Regions from separate parts of the Homo sapiens genome. Here region 2 is linked to region 1. The links are contacts of gene promoters, found by promoter capture Hi-C in human tissues and cell types (Jung and others, 2019). All regions are on one chromosome and are shown on one strand. The core of a region is centred on a gene start or on the middle of the fragment in contact, and the rest is flanking DNA. Distances in the headings are between cores, read along the strand shown. Region 1 holds the start of STK25 (serine/threonine kinase 25). Region 2 overlaps FARP2 (FERM, ARH/RhoGEF and pleckstrin domain protein 2).

Region 1 (7,301 bases), core at 3,326-5,825:
GGTGGAAGGGGCGGCACACAGGCCCCCACCTTGAAACATGCCGCTGCACATCCCTTTTTGAGTGCCAGACCTCGAGGTGACTGGAACTCTGGGGAAGGAAAGGCAGTTAGGGGAGGGCCAGAGGCCACCTAACCTTTCCCTGCAAGGCTGGCTTGTCAAGGCCCGGGGGTGTGCAGGTGGCCTCCATGCAGCAGCTAGAGCAGGCCAGCTGCAGTGTACACACAGACCCTTGCTTAGCCCAAAGGTCTGGCCAGTTGAGACAGCTGGTCGAGTCAAAAGTGACCTTTCTCATTCTCTCATCAGTACAGCAGCCCAGTCCTAAAGCCAGTACCCATGGAGGAAACAGCAGGGGGTGCCTTGAGCCCACCTGCTACCAGGAGTCCCCAAAGCCAAGGTCAAGAAACTCGGCAGGATAGAGAGAGCTGAGTACTGCCTGGGGTCATTCCGGTCAAGGTGAGCTGTGTCTGCCCCCAGCCCCATCACTGCTGCTGACCATGTGTTCTAAAGAGAAGCCAGGAAAAATTCAAAGCTGACAAGTCACAGGTGCTCAGCTGTCTCCGGGTTGAGGGTGGGTGGCACAGATGAGGTGAGAACCAGCCCCTATCTGAAAGGAAAGTCAACCCAGAACATGCAATCTTTTTTTGAGATGGGGGGTCTCGCTGTGTGCCCAGGCTGGTCTCCTCAGCCTCCTGAGTAGCTGGGCCCACAAGTGCATGTCAAAGCATAAGCTCATCAGCCCACTGGCTGTCATAGGTAAGCAGTCAGTGTTAAAATATCACCCTCCTGCCATAGAGAGCATCATCTCCGTTTCCTCCTCCCTGTTTGCTCCATTTCTGGTGGAGGACCACCCGTTCCTAGCCCAGTCCTGGATGCCAGGTGCAGGACAAGGTTAAGAAGCAGCCCCTCTTCTTTTTCTTTTTTTTTTTGAGATAGAGTCTCACTCTGTTGCCCAGGCTGGAGTGCAGTGGCGTGATCTCGGCTCACTGCAACCTCCGCCTCCCAGGTTCAAGCGATTCTTCCACCTCAGCCTCCCGAGTAGCCGGACTTACAGGCACCCGCCATCATGCCCCGTTAATTTTTTTTTTTTTTGAATTTTTGTAGAGACAGGGTTTCACCATGTTGGCCAGGCTAGTCTCGAACTCCTGACCTCAGGTGATCTGCAGAAGCAGCCCCTCTTCTGCCTGCTCCTCCTCCAGCAGGCCCAACGCCACCTTGTCAAATCCTCCCTGTTTGCTCAGCCCATCAACGCTTACTCGGGGCCCTGGGACGCTGCTCCACCGAGCCGTTAGCCTGTAGGCCTGGCCTCAGCCTCAACCCAACCCTGCCCAAGCACCCGGAAAGACCCCAAGGGAGTCCTCCTGGGGATTCCAGAGGTCTGTTGGTGCCCTGAGCTTGTGTCCTCCCATCTACTCCTGTCTAAGGTGGCCTGAGAGAGGGCCTGGAGAAAGCAGGGCCATGACCTGGCAGCATTACCCAGCACCACCACCCCTCCGACTCTTCAGGCCTCTCTGGATGACGCGTCCTCCCGCCCTGCTCTACTCCCTGCTCCCTGCTGAGGCCATGCTGCTCTCCACACAGGGCCTGGAGCTGAATCTGCTCCATCACAGCAGCCCCGGTAGGGAAACCCCTGGGTGGGCACTCAGACCTCTACTGCTTCACAGCAGGGGAGCACAGCGGACCCCTAAGCCAGAGCCAGGGCTCATCAGCCCAAGCAGAAACTGTGTGACAGGAACCCTCTTGGCTGTGATCCTGGCCCTACAATGACATCGCAGGCCAAGCCAAGGCAAGCCATCCCCACCCCCACCTGGAGAAGAAAGGGTAAGTGGGCCCCTGGCCTGGAGGCTGCGAATCCTCTTTTGGATGTAGCAGCAGCTGTGGCCTGGATGATCACTCGGGCCACTCAGCTGACTCGAGCGGTGGACACCTGTTCTCCACATTAGCCCTGGGGCTGCCAGGTCTGGGGCCTCCACTTGCCAATGTGTCTGCTGTCAGTGTTGCCCCACAAAACAAGGGGAATGACCCAGCACACATAGCTGAGTGGTGATACAGTGCTCTGGCACCCCACAGCCATTCGGGCCCTCCAGGGCCAGGCAGGAACTGGCCAGGTAGAGGGGAGAAGTCTAAGGCAGGAGCACAGGCTATGGGGGGAACGCGCCCCACTCTCCCACAAAGGGGCTGCCCCACAGGTCCACAGGACACCATGGCAACCATCTCAGGAGAAAACCACAGCCCCTCAGGTTTTCTGCCACTATATGAAGTCAAGTCTCTCATCATCCAGGCTGGGACAAAGGGATCCCTAAAAGGACAAAAGGAGCTTCCTACCTTTGGAATCCCTTCTCCAATGTGCCCGCACTCCCTTCCCTGTGTGCGATCGCACCAAGAACCAATAGCACACAGTTACAGGGCACCTCGGAGCTCCAATTTCTCATCCTGTGACCCAAAGGAGTTATTTCTGCAGTTCTTAAAAATAAACTGGTGGCCGAGCGCGGTGGCTCATGCCTGTAATCCCAGCACGTTGGGAGGCCAGGGCAAGCAGATCACCTGAGGTCAGGAGTTTGAGACCAGCCTGACCAACATGGTGAAACTCCGTCTCTACTAAAAATACAAAATTAGCTGGGCATGGTGGCGCATGCCTGTAATCCAAGCTACTTGGGAGGCCAAGACAGGAGAATCGCTTGTACTTGGGAGGCAGAGGGTGCAGTGAGCTGAGATTGCACCATTGCACTCCAACCTGGGCAACAAAAGCGAAACTCCGTCTCAAAAAAATAAAAATAAAGTAAAATAAACTGGTGGCAGATTTTTCTCCCAGCACCTTAGTCATGTAAGTTACCAGATACAGAATGCCAAAAGCAAACCAAAAATCTGTTAGCTTAATTCAGCAACAGTCAGCAAGCCCCAGTCTCATCTGTGACCACGCAGGTCCAGGTTGCCTGGCCCAACAGCTGCACATGGTGTTCCGGGTCTCTAGGCTGGTCCGGTTTCCTCCAAAGCAGCCCTGACTCCAGTTCCTGCCCCTACGCGAACAGACGCCCTTCCTGTTCCACTGCAGGCCCAACTCTCCATTCAGCACATAGGAGTGAACAAGGAGGGCCACACATTTTAGCGGCGATTCCAACGCCTTAGGTAGAGCCAAGGCATCAAGGAGAATAAAACCGAACAGCTAAGATGTAAGAAAACCCAGCGGCCAGAGTCAAAAAAGTGGGGAGGGGTAGAGAATGCAAGTCCCCAGGCCCCAGGTTGGCTGACCCCACCCTCCTTCCCCGGCAAGCCCTTTGGCACCAGCAGCTGGTCCTCATTCCAGGCTAAGGGCTCGCCGTAGTGGCTCCCTCCGAGGCTGTCCCACCAGACGCTTAAAGGTGGCTCCATAGTGGAAACGACTTCTTTAAAGAAGAAAGATGAGTCTCATGTTCGGGCAACCGCCCGTCGCAGGGGTTAAACGGTCCTGACAGAGCAGCCTTTTCACCCTCCCCTGGGCCAAAGCACACACGTGTTCTCTGCTTTCCCTGCACACCGGCCACTCAGATCTGCTTCTCCACAATCTCAGCCCCTCAGCGCCCGCCAGGGTCTCCCCTACAGCCCCTGCCCAGCCCAACACGGCCAGAATGACCCGCGGCCCAGGCCGAGGCCGCAGGGTGGCCCCCGACCTTCCACTGCCTTCGGATGCTGACATGAGGTTCCCGCCCCGCGCTGGGGGCAGCGCCCCGTCCCTGCGCCGGTGTCTCTTCACGCACCTCCACCGCCCTCGCACAGGCGGAGCCACCAGGGGCTCGGTTTCTAGAGGCCTGCGAGCTTCTGCCACGCAAAACGCCACAGGCACACGGCAGAGCCCCGGGGCCGCCCTGCGCCCACCTCAGGACGGCTCCGCTGGTCGCACGACGCGCGCTCCTTCCCTCACCCCACTGCCCGCTCCGGCGTGGCGCTCCCCTCTGAACCCCCAGGAGACTCTGGAGCCCCTCGGTGAGAGGCCGCTAGTCTTCCTGACCTGCACCCTTCTCACCTGGTTGGCAAATCCCCGGAGGTGAGCCATGGCCGCGCCGCCTCAGACCCTCCGCCAGCAGCCCCAGGAGGCGTCTGGATCCCGCGGAGAGGCGCGGAGCCGGCTAGCTCGCCCCTGCGGCGTCAGTCCACTGCGAGGGACACCAGGGGCGCTCGGTGCCCAGTTCAGTCATCTGAGACCGACCTCCGGGGCGGCGGGCTCCATGGGTGGGGGGGGGCCCAGGAGACCCCCCAGGCCGCCGGGGCCCCGCCACGCCCGGGCCTAACGCCCAGGCTCCCGGGGGCTCGCCGCCCCTCCCGTCGCCGCCCCCACCTCTTCCAAGGCAGCTTCCTCCCGGTGCCCCCGCCCCGGTGTCCCCGCCACCGAGCCCCGCCCCGGGCCCCTCCCTCTGCCCCCTCCCCAATCGCCGCAAGCGCCCCGCCCGGCAGCGCGCCCACCTCCGCGGGGCTCCATCCCGGCCTCCCCCGGCCCGCTCTGCAGCGCCCGCGAAGGCTCCCACCCGCAGCCTCTGTTCGCCCGGGGACCCCGGGCCTCCCAGCCCGCGAAGCAACGGTGGTGGCGGCAGCGACCGGAGAAAGCCCGGAGGCGACGGCGAGGGCGGTGCTCGGCGTCGCGGCCCGCGCACGGCTCTCTGGGACCCCGAGTCCCACCGCCCACTCCGGGCCCGGAAGCCTGCTGGCGTTGGACTACAAGTCCCGGCAGGCTGCGCGAGAGGGGGCCGGGGCTCGCATGCGCGCCGCGAGGCTCTCTGGGACCCCTAGTCCTGCTCCCGAAAGGTTTGGACTGCGTCTCCCGGCAGGCCGCGCGCCTGGGCGGGCGGGGCACGTGGTCGTTGTCGCGTCGCGCCCTCCCTGCCTCGCCCTCGCGGGTCTTCTGCGTTTGCTGGCGCCTGCCAGGCGTCGTCTCCGACGTTACGGCGGCCGCGCGGCCCTCTCCCTTGGGCTCTGCCCTGCGCAGCCCTGGTTCGAGCGGGCCAGTGAGGCCCGGCGCCCTCCCCGCCTCGCCACGAGGATCCACCGCGGCCGCCCAGGCTTCTAGCCTTGTCGTCACGGCACGGAGATAAGCCCGCGCTGGCCACATCGCGAAGCCCCTGTTCGTACTGAGACCCCGCCCGGGATCACGCGCACAGGCCAGGGCGCACCAGGCCTTGGAGAAGCTACCGGCACAGCCCATTCCTTGGGCGAGTTGCTTCGCCTCTCCTGCCTCAGTTTCCTTACCTGTCAAGGGGTGGTCATAGGACGTCCTTGGTCACACCGTTGTGGGACCCACCTGGGCTAGAGCGCGGGACGCGCCCAGGACAGTGACTGCTGCTGGAAGCCGTCATGGCACTCCCCAGGGTCCGGGAGGGACTTGCAGATCCCAAGGCTACCTGGTGCGTCCCCGTGCCCCGTGGGCCGCCAGGTCATAGTGCCCCCTGTGTGCATTCCCCTAGTGCACCGCAGGGATCCCCACCTGTCCGGTGAGGAAGATTTGTCCCTCCTGCATACTGTGTCCACCCTTACAGGCCCTCACTCTCCATGATGGCTCAGCACAGGTGACTATCCTGACCTCCTCACATCCCTCCTTCTTCGAGAGGGTTCTGGCGTTTCTCTCTGCTCCCTGGTGCGTGTCTTCTCATGGTGCACTGCCGAGTCCTTTAAGAAGCTATGCTTCCCTGTCATGCGTCCAGGACAGCCCCTTGAACCCCTCCTGGGTCCGCATCTCTCATCACCCCTGCTTCTTTACGTACTGACTTGGCTTTGTTTGTGCTTTGACTCCCCAGGAGAAAGTGGGCTTCCTGCAAGCGGAGCTGTGCCCAGGACCATGCCAGCCCACGGCAGGCGCTCAGTAATGTTTGTTGAATGAATGTGTAAATGCATGAAGATAATATATGTATTTAATGCATGTAAATAGATGCCTGCTGCATCTCTGGCCTTCGTGTGGTCAGTAATCGCTGCACTTTTCCGAAGTGCCTAGAAGAGGCTGGGAGCAGTGGCTCACACCTGTAATCCCAGCACTTTGGGAGGCTGAGGCAGGCAGATCACTTGAGGTTGGGAGTTCGGGGCCAGCCTAGCCAACATGGTGAAACTTCATCTCTACTAAAAATACAAAAATTAGCCAGGCATGGTAGTGCGTGCCTGTAGTCCCAGCTACTAGGGAGGCTGAGTCAGGAGAATCGCTTGAACCTGGGAGTTGGAGGTTGCTGTGAGTCAAGATCATGCCACAGTACTCCAGCCTGGGAGACCGAGCAAGGCTCTGCCTCAAAAAACAAATTAATAAAAGTGCCTAGAAGAGTTTTTCAGCCTTTGCCTGCTTTTGGCCAATTGTTAACCCTTTGCTCCTGGCTGCTGTCTTGCTAAGCTGCCGTCCGGACGTGATCATCACCATGTCTTTTCCTGCATTGACCTTCCAGGCCCTTCATCCCGTTTCTCTTGTTTTCCATTTCTTTTTTGTTGTTGTATACTTCTGTTATTCTTCGGGGTTTTTGTTTGTTTGTGTGTTTGTTTTGAGACGGAGTCTCACTCTGTCTCCCAGGCTGGAGTGCAGTGGTGCGATCTTGGCTCACTGTAACCTCCGCTTCCCAGGTTCAAGCGATTCTCCTGCCTCAGCGTCCTGAGTAGCTGGGATTATAGGCGTGCGCCACCACCCCCGGCTAATTTTTGTATTTTGAGTAGAGACGGGGTTTCATCATGTTGGTCATGTTGGTCAGGCTAGTCTCAAACTCCTGACCTCGTGATCTGCCCACCTCTGCCTCCCAAAGTGCTGGGATTACAGGCATGAGCCACCACGCTCGGCCTTATTCTTCGGTTTTATCTTTCAACTTTCATATAAAAATTTTCTTTTCAGTGATTCTTTCTTTTTTTTTCCCAGATAAGGTCTTACTCTGCCACCCAGGCTGGAATGCAGTGCGGCAATTTTGGCTTACTGCAACCTCGACCTCCCAGGCTCAAGCAGTTCTCCCACCTCAGCTCCCCATGTAGCTGGGTCCACAGGCACATGTCACCACACCCAGCTAATTTTTGTGGAGACGGGGTCTCCCCATGCTGTCCAGGCTGTTCTCAAACTCCTGAGCTCAAGTGATCCTTCCGCCTCAGCCTTCCAAAGTGCTTTCAGAGTACAGGTGTGAGCCACTGAGCCTGGTCTCTATTTTTCACCTCCAAGAAATTTTAGTTTTTTCTCTGGGCACTCACTTTCTTCCTTGGGAATATGGCGCTAATAGTACTTTTCTTGTAGATTGTGAGAATAACACCGTATGTGGCGGGCCTGGCCCTTGGCAGGTGCTCAGAGAGTCACTGTGTTTATTATTGACAAGGCTGACCTTGGG
Region 2 (7,301 bases), core at 2,900-5,399, 83 kb before region 1:
GAAGGAGGCTGAATCCAAGGAGCCAAGCAGTATCATTCTGTGAGGCCCACTTCCACAGCACCTCACAAGTTAAGACCCACTGGCTTGGAATTCTAGCCAGCCAACAGCAGCAGGCTGGAAATCTGCCTGAGATGGATCCAAGTTCCTGCGGGGGCGGGGTGGCCACCATCTCTAGTTTGGTTGACTCAGCCATTTTAGCCTGCTGGCTTTGGAGTCTGGATAAGGAAGAGTTCCCCCACATGCAGCATACGTACTCTGCAAAAAGCAGCCAGGCTGCTGCTTTAAGTGGGCCCCTGACCCTGTTCCTCCTGACTGGGTGAGCCACCCCCTACAGGTGCATTTGGGCCAGCAACAAGTCAGTACCCTCCTGGGATATAAAGCTTTTAGAGGAGAAAGCTGCCTGCTATCTTTTCTGTTTCACAGGCTTTGCTGGTGATACCTCCAGGTACAGAAAAACCTAGGCAACTAGGGTCTGGAGCAACTCCCAGCAAACTGCAGCAGCCCTAAAAACAACAGGCCAGGCGTAGTGGCTCACACCTGTAATCCCAGCACTTTGGGAGGCTGAGGTGGGCAGATCACTTGAGGTCAGGAGTTCAAGACCAGCCTGGACAACATGTTGAAACACCATCTCTACTAAAAATACGAAAATTAGCTGGGTGTAGTGGTGGGCACCTGTAGTCCCAGCTATTTAGGAGGCTGAGACAGGAGAATCACTTGAACACGGGGAGGCAGAGGTTGCAGTGAGCTGAGATCACACCACTGCACTCCACCCTGGGCAACAGAGCGAGACTGTCTCAAAAAACAAACACCTGTAATCCCAGCACTGTGGGAGGCTGAAACAAGCAGATCACCTAAGGTCAGAAGTTCAAGACCAGCCTGGCCAAGTGGTGAAACCCCATCTCTACTAAAAATACAAAAAAAAAAAAAAAAAAAATTAACCACGCACAGCGGTAGGCTGAGGAGGGAGAACTGCTTGAATCTGTGAGGCAGAGGTTGCAGTGAGCCAAGATCGTGCCACTGCACTCCACCCTGGGTGACAAAGTGAGACCCTGTATCAAAAAAAAAAACAGAAAACAACAACAACATGAACCAAAAAACCCATAAAAGCCCCATTCAAAGGTCAGCAACCTCAAAGATCAAAGTTTGATAAACCCACAGAGATGAGAAAATCAACACAAAAATGCTGAACACTCAAAAAGTCAGAGTGCCTCTTCTCCTCCAAATGACCACAATACCTCTCTGGCAAGGGCATAGAAATGGGCTGGGGCTGAGGCTGAGATAGCATTATTGACAGAAGCAGGCTTTGGAAGGTGGGTAATAATGAACTTTGCTGAGCTAAAGGAGCATGTTGTAACCCAATGCAAAGAAGCTAAGGACCATGATAAAACAACACAGGAGCTTATAGCCGGTTTTGAGAGAAACATAACCTACCTGATGTAGCTGAAAAACACAACACGAGAACCTCACATTGCAATCACAAGTATCAATAGCAGAATAGGCCAAGCAGAGGAAAGAATCTCAGAGCATTGAAGACTATCTTTCTGAAATAGGCAGACAAGAATAGAGAGAAAAGAATGAAAAGGAATGACAGAACCTCCAAGAAATATGGGATTATGTGAAGAGACCAAACCTATAACTGATTGGGTTACCCAAAAGAGACAGGGAGAATGGAATCAAGTTGGAAAACATACTTTGGGATATCATCCAGGAGAATTTCCCCAACCTAACGAGACAGGCTAATATTCAAATTCAGGAAATGCAGAGAACCCCAGTAAGATACTCCACAAGAAGATCTGCCCCAAGACATATAATCATCAGATTCTCCAAGGTTGAAATAAAAGAAAAAATATTAAAGGCAGCCAGAGAGAAAGGCCAGGTCATCTACAAAGGGAATCCCTTCAGACTAACAGGGGACCTCTCAGCAGAAACCCTACAAGCCAGAAGAGATTGGGGGCCAATATTCAACATTCTTAGGAAAAAATTTCCAACCCAGAATTTCATATCTGGCCAAACTAAACTTCATAAGCAAAACAGAAATAAGATTCTTTTCAGACAAGCAAGTGCTTAGGGAATTCATCACCACCAGGCCTGCTTTGCAAGAGCTCCTGAAGGAAGCACTAAATACAGAAAGGAAAAACTGTTAACAGCCACTGCAAAAACACACTGAAATACATAGACCAGTGACACTATAAAGCAACCACAAAAACAAGTCTGCAAAATAACCAGCTAGGACCATGATGACAGGATGAAATTCACATATAACAATATTAACCTTAAATGTAAATGGGCTAAATGCCCCCAATTAAAAGACACAGAATGGCAAGCTGGATAAAGAGCCAAGACCTATGGGTATGCTGTCTTCAAGAGACCTGTCTCACGTGCAAAGACACACATAGACTCAAAATGAAGGGATGGAATAAAATTTACCAAGCAAATGGAAAACAGAAAAAAACAAGGCTTGCAATCCTAGTTTCTGACAGAACAGACTTTAAAGCAACAAAGATTAAAAAAGACAAAGATGGGCATTATATAATGGTAAAGGGTTCAACAAGAAGAGCTAATTATCCTAAATATATATGCACCCAATACAGGAGCCCCCAGATTCATAAAGCAAGTTCTTAAAGATCTAAAAAACGACTTAGACTCCCACACAATAATAATAGGAGACTTTAACACCCCACTGACAATATTAGACAGATCATCAAGACAGAAAGTTAACTTTCTGAAAATATTCAGGACCTGAACTCAGCCCTGGATAAAGTGACCTTATAGATAGCTACAGAACTGTCCCCCCAAAAACAAAAGAATATAAATTCTTCTCATCACCACATGGCACTTTGTCTAAAACTGATCACATAATCGGAAGCAAAACACTCCTCAGCAAATGCATAAGAACTGAAATCATAACAAACAGTCTCTTACACCACAGCACAATCAAATTAGAACTCAAGATTTAAACATTCACTGAAAACCACACAACTATATGGAAATTGAACAACCTGCTCCTGAATGACTCTTGGGTAAATAATGAAATTAAGGTAGAAATCAAGAATTATTTGAAACTAATGAGAACTAAGAGATAACATATCAGAATCTGGGATGCAGCTAAAGCATTGTTAAGAGGGAAATTTATAGTACTAAATGCCCACATCAAAAAGCTAGAAAGATCTCAGGTTAACAACCTAACATCTCAACTAAAAGAACTAAAAAATCAAGAGCAAACAAACCTCAAAGCTAGCAGAAGACAAGAAATAGCCAAGATCAGAGCTGAACTGAAGAGATAGAGACACAAAAACCCCTTCAAAAAATCAAATCCAGGAGCTGGTTTTTTGAAAAAATTAATAAAATAGACTGCTAGCTAGACTAGTAAAGAAGATAATAGAGAATAATCAAATGAACAATCTGAAATGATAGGGGAATATCACCACTGAACCCACGGAAATATAAACGATCATCAGAGAATGCTATAAACACCTCTATGCACATAAAGTGGAAAATCTAAAAGAAACTGATAAATTCCTGGACACATACGCTCTCCCAAGACTGAACCAGAAAGAAACTTATAAAAACCCTAGATGAGGGCTAGACACAGTGGCTCACGTCTGAATCCCAGCACTTTCGGAGGCCAATGGGGGCAGATCACTTGATGTCAGGAGTTCAAGACCAGCCTGGGGCCAACATGGTAAAACCCTGTCTCTACTAATATAATAATTAGCCAGGCATGATAGTGGGTGCCTATAACCCCAGCTACTTGAGAGACTGAGGAAGGAGAACCGCTTGAGCCTGGGAGGCGGAGGTTGCAGTGAGCCAAAATCAAGCCACTATACTCCAGTCTGGGCGATGAAGTGCGACCCTGTCTCAAAAACAAAAACAAAAAAAACCCTGGAAGAAAATCTAGGCAATGCCATTCAGGACACAGGCACAGGAAGGATTTCATGACGAAAATGCCAAAAGCAATTGCAACAAAAGCAAAAATTGATAAATGAGATTTAATTAAACTGAAAAGCTTATGCACAGCAAAAGAAACTATCATCAGAGTGAACAGACAACCCTACAGAATGGGAGAAAAATTTTGCAGTCTATCCATCCAACAAAGGATAATAGTGGAGAAGACCCAAGAACTCCCAGGAAGAAGAGAGAAAGAAGTGTGATTTAAAATGGCCTGGAACTATTCCGTAGCAGTACTGGAAGCTAGAAAGCAACGGGGCTTTCCGAGCCAGGGGGAAATTGAATCCCTGAATAGACTAGAAATGTGTTGTGAAATTGAGGCAATAATATCCTACCAAGTAAAAAAAAAAAAAAAAAAAAAAAAAAAAGTAGCCCAGGACCAGATGGATTCACAGCTGAATTCAACCAGAGGTACAAAGAAGAGCTGGTACAATTTCTCTCTCTCTCTTTTTTTTTTTTTTTTTTTTGAGACAGAGTTTCATTCTTGTTGCCCAGGCTGGAGTGCAATGTCACTGCAATGGCAGCATCTCAAACATTAAAAGGAAATTATTTCCAAACTAATTCTTTTGTTTTTTTTTTTTTGAGACTACAGTTTTATTATTACTCAAATCAGTTTCCCCGAGCATTTGGCGATTTTTTTTTTAAATTTGGTGTGTGTGGGGCTCTAGACTAGAATTCTGTGCTCTGTTCCACATGACTTCTGTACAGAGAAAACCTTTTTTCACACATGTAGATTTTTAAAAAATTTAACTACTACTCTCCCTTTGTAAGGAAAAACTAGAGGAGAGAATGAACTAAAAGTGAGAAAGAAGGAAATAGGGTGCTCCACATCCGAGACAGGCAGAGGAAGACACAGGTTCTGCCTGCCAAGAGAGCATCCACCAATACCAGAGCAGAGGGCAGGGCCCCGGGAGAGAGGGTAGACCAGGGACTCATTTCTTTTGCTGGACGGTGTGGAAGAGTGTTAACTAGGGATAGGTACATGCCGGTGAAGCAAATGAAACGAGGCAATTAGGATTCTCAAGGAAATTTTGAAGAAGGAAGCTTTACTTTATAATATAAAAAAAGTAGTTAAATTCACTATAGCTCAGCTTGTGAGCAATGCTTACATGACCATTAATATAAATACTGAATTTAAAATTTACCAACAATTAGGAGAGTGTGGGGAGGGGTAGGTGTGAGGTATTGGCAGTGACAGATGTTGAGGAGGCAAGATTTCAAAGTGGAGAATGTGCTAGCTGTCATAAATGTGCTTTTCAGAAATACGGGTGAATGAATGGATGCATGAGAGTAAATCCCAGAAAGGCAGCCAAGAGAGGTGAAGCTGGTTCTGTCTGAGGAAGAGGACTTGATGTGGAGTGGGTGACCCTGACCTGGCAGTTTGTTTCCAGTCGTGTAGTCTATATGGCATTTTCAGATATGCCCTGGATTATTGGATGAATATGAAAATGAAAACAGTAGATTTTAGCATTCCACAGCTAACTGTGCAGGTTTAAAAGTGTTGTCTTAAAGTCTGTCAAGTCAGGGTGCAGTAGATGAAAGCTGTGATTGTCCTTGGATTTTCTATTTATTTCTCCTTTTATCATGGTGGTCAAGACCCTGGGATATACAGTTGGCCCTCCATATCCGCAGGAAAATAAACGATAAAAAACAATACAGGCTGGGCGCGGTGGCTCACACCTGTAATCCCAGAACTTTGGGAGGCCAAGGCTGGTAGATCACCTGAGGTCACAAGTTCGAGACCAGCCTGGCCAACATGGTGAAACCCCATCTCTACTAAAAATACAAAAATTAGCCAGGTGTGGTGGCAGGTGCCTGTAATGCCAGCTACTCAGGAGGCTGAGGTAGGAGAATCGCTTGAATCCAGGAGGCCGAGGTTACAGTGAGCCAAGATCGCACCATTGCACTCCAGCCTGGGCAACAAGAGCGAAACTCTGTCTCAAAACACACACACACACATATATGTGTCTGTGTAATTTTTTAAAAAATACAAATTTAACACAGTACAGTAAAACTATGTGACGTTTACATTGTATTAGGTACATAAGTAATCTAGAAATGATTTTATTAAAGTATACAGGAAGCCCAGCGTGGTAGCTCAAGCCTGTAATCCCAGCACTTTGGAAGGTCAAGGCAAGAGAATCACCAGAGCTCGGGAGACCAGCCTTAGCAGCAAAGCAAGACCTCATCTCTACAAAAATTGTAGGTTTTTTTGTAGAGATGGTGTGTGTAGGTTATATGCAAATACTACACCATTTTCTATCAGAGCCTCAAGATTTATAGATTGGGGTACTGGGGTAGAGGGTCCTGGAACCAATCCCCTACAGATACCAAGAGACAGCTGTAGAAATTTCTTATTTTGACCAGAAGGGATTGAACAAGCAGCTGGAGCAGTTATTTGGGGGCCTCTGAGCTATTGTTGGCCCACTTCTTGGGAGGGCTTCATCTCTTACCTCCGTGGCAGGCCCTCGGTTTTTTGTTTTGTTTTTGAGATGGAGTCTCACTCTGTCGCCCAGGTGGGAGTACAGTGGCGCGATCTCAGCTCACTGCAACCTCCGCCTCCCAGCTTCAAGCGATTCTCCTGCCTCAGCCTCCCGAGTAGCTGGGACTTAGAGGCGCCTGCCACCACGTCTGGCTAATTTTTTGTATTTTTAGTAGAGGCGGGGTTTCACTGTGTTAGCCAGGATGGTCTCGATCTCCTGACCTCGTGATCCGCCCGCCTTGGCCTCCCAAAGTGCTGGGATTACAGGCATGAGCCACCACGCCCAGCCTAGGCCCTCGGTTTTTTAAGACTCTGTCCTGGATATATAAATAATATCTAGAACTGGGGCTATGGGGATTTTGTTTCCTTTTGTTGATGTTTTGTTTTGCTTTGTTTTTGAGAATACAATTTAGGACAGAAATTTTGAGAATGTAGTTGAAAATCCTCCAATATTTTACTTTTTTTTTTTTTTTTTTGAGACGGAGTCTCCCTTTGTCGTCCAGGCTGGAGTACAGTGGCGCAGTCTCTGCTCACTGCAACCTGCGCCTCCTGGGTTCAAATGATTTTCCTGCCTCAGCCTGCTGAGTAGCTAGGATTACAGGCACTGGCCACCATGTCCAGCTAATTTTTTTTTTTTTTTAATTCCTGACCTCAGGTGATCTGCTCACCTCAGCCTCCCAAAGTGCTGGGATCACAGGCGTCAGCCACAGCACCTGGCCTTCAATATTTTACTTTCAGTAGAAATTAGAACGACTTAGTGTTGGGGCAATATTTTGGGAACTAGGAAGCTTAAGTCCTCATTTAGACCCTAATGTTTGTATCTTGGCTTTGAGAACATCTAACTCAGGATTTTTTTTTTTTTAATTGAGAT

What was found. The method cuts DNA at HindIII sites, captures the fragments that hold promoters and counts their contacts. A contact is called where the count stands out against the background at its distance.
Region 2: a contact is called between a fragment that was not itself captured here and the fragment with the promoter of STK25 in region 1, in 3 of the 25 tissues and cell types used here (IMR-90 fibroblasts, bladder and pancreas).

Annotation. Positions count from the first base shown.
Region 1 is chr2:241,504,009-241,511,309 of GRCh38, forward strand. It overlaps STK25 (serine/threonine kinase 25), which reads right to left and starts at 4,576. Exons shown (of 12, transcript NM_001271977.2): 1 at 4,435-4,576; 2 at 3,998-4,127. The coding sequence starts at 4,027. It overlaps LOC107985788 (a long non-coding RNA gene), which reads left to right and starts at 4,864. Exons shown (of 2, transcript XR_001739177.2): 1 at 4,864-5,089; 2 at 5,430-5,887. RefSeq lists enhancers at 1,709-2,245, 3,401-3,450 and silencers at 3,881-3,930, 4,211-4,980. The HindIII fragment of the contact is 21,130 bases long and covers 1-7,301 here.
Region 2 is chr2:241,421,347-241,428,647 of GRCh38, forward strand. All of the region lies in intron 8 of FARP2 (FERM, ARH/RhoGEF and pleckstrin domain protein 2), which reads left to right. Among named protein-coding and RNA genes, the nearest start is that of MIR3133, 53 kb to the right of the region's middle. The HindIII fragment of the contact is 3,912 bases long and covers 2,194-6,105 here.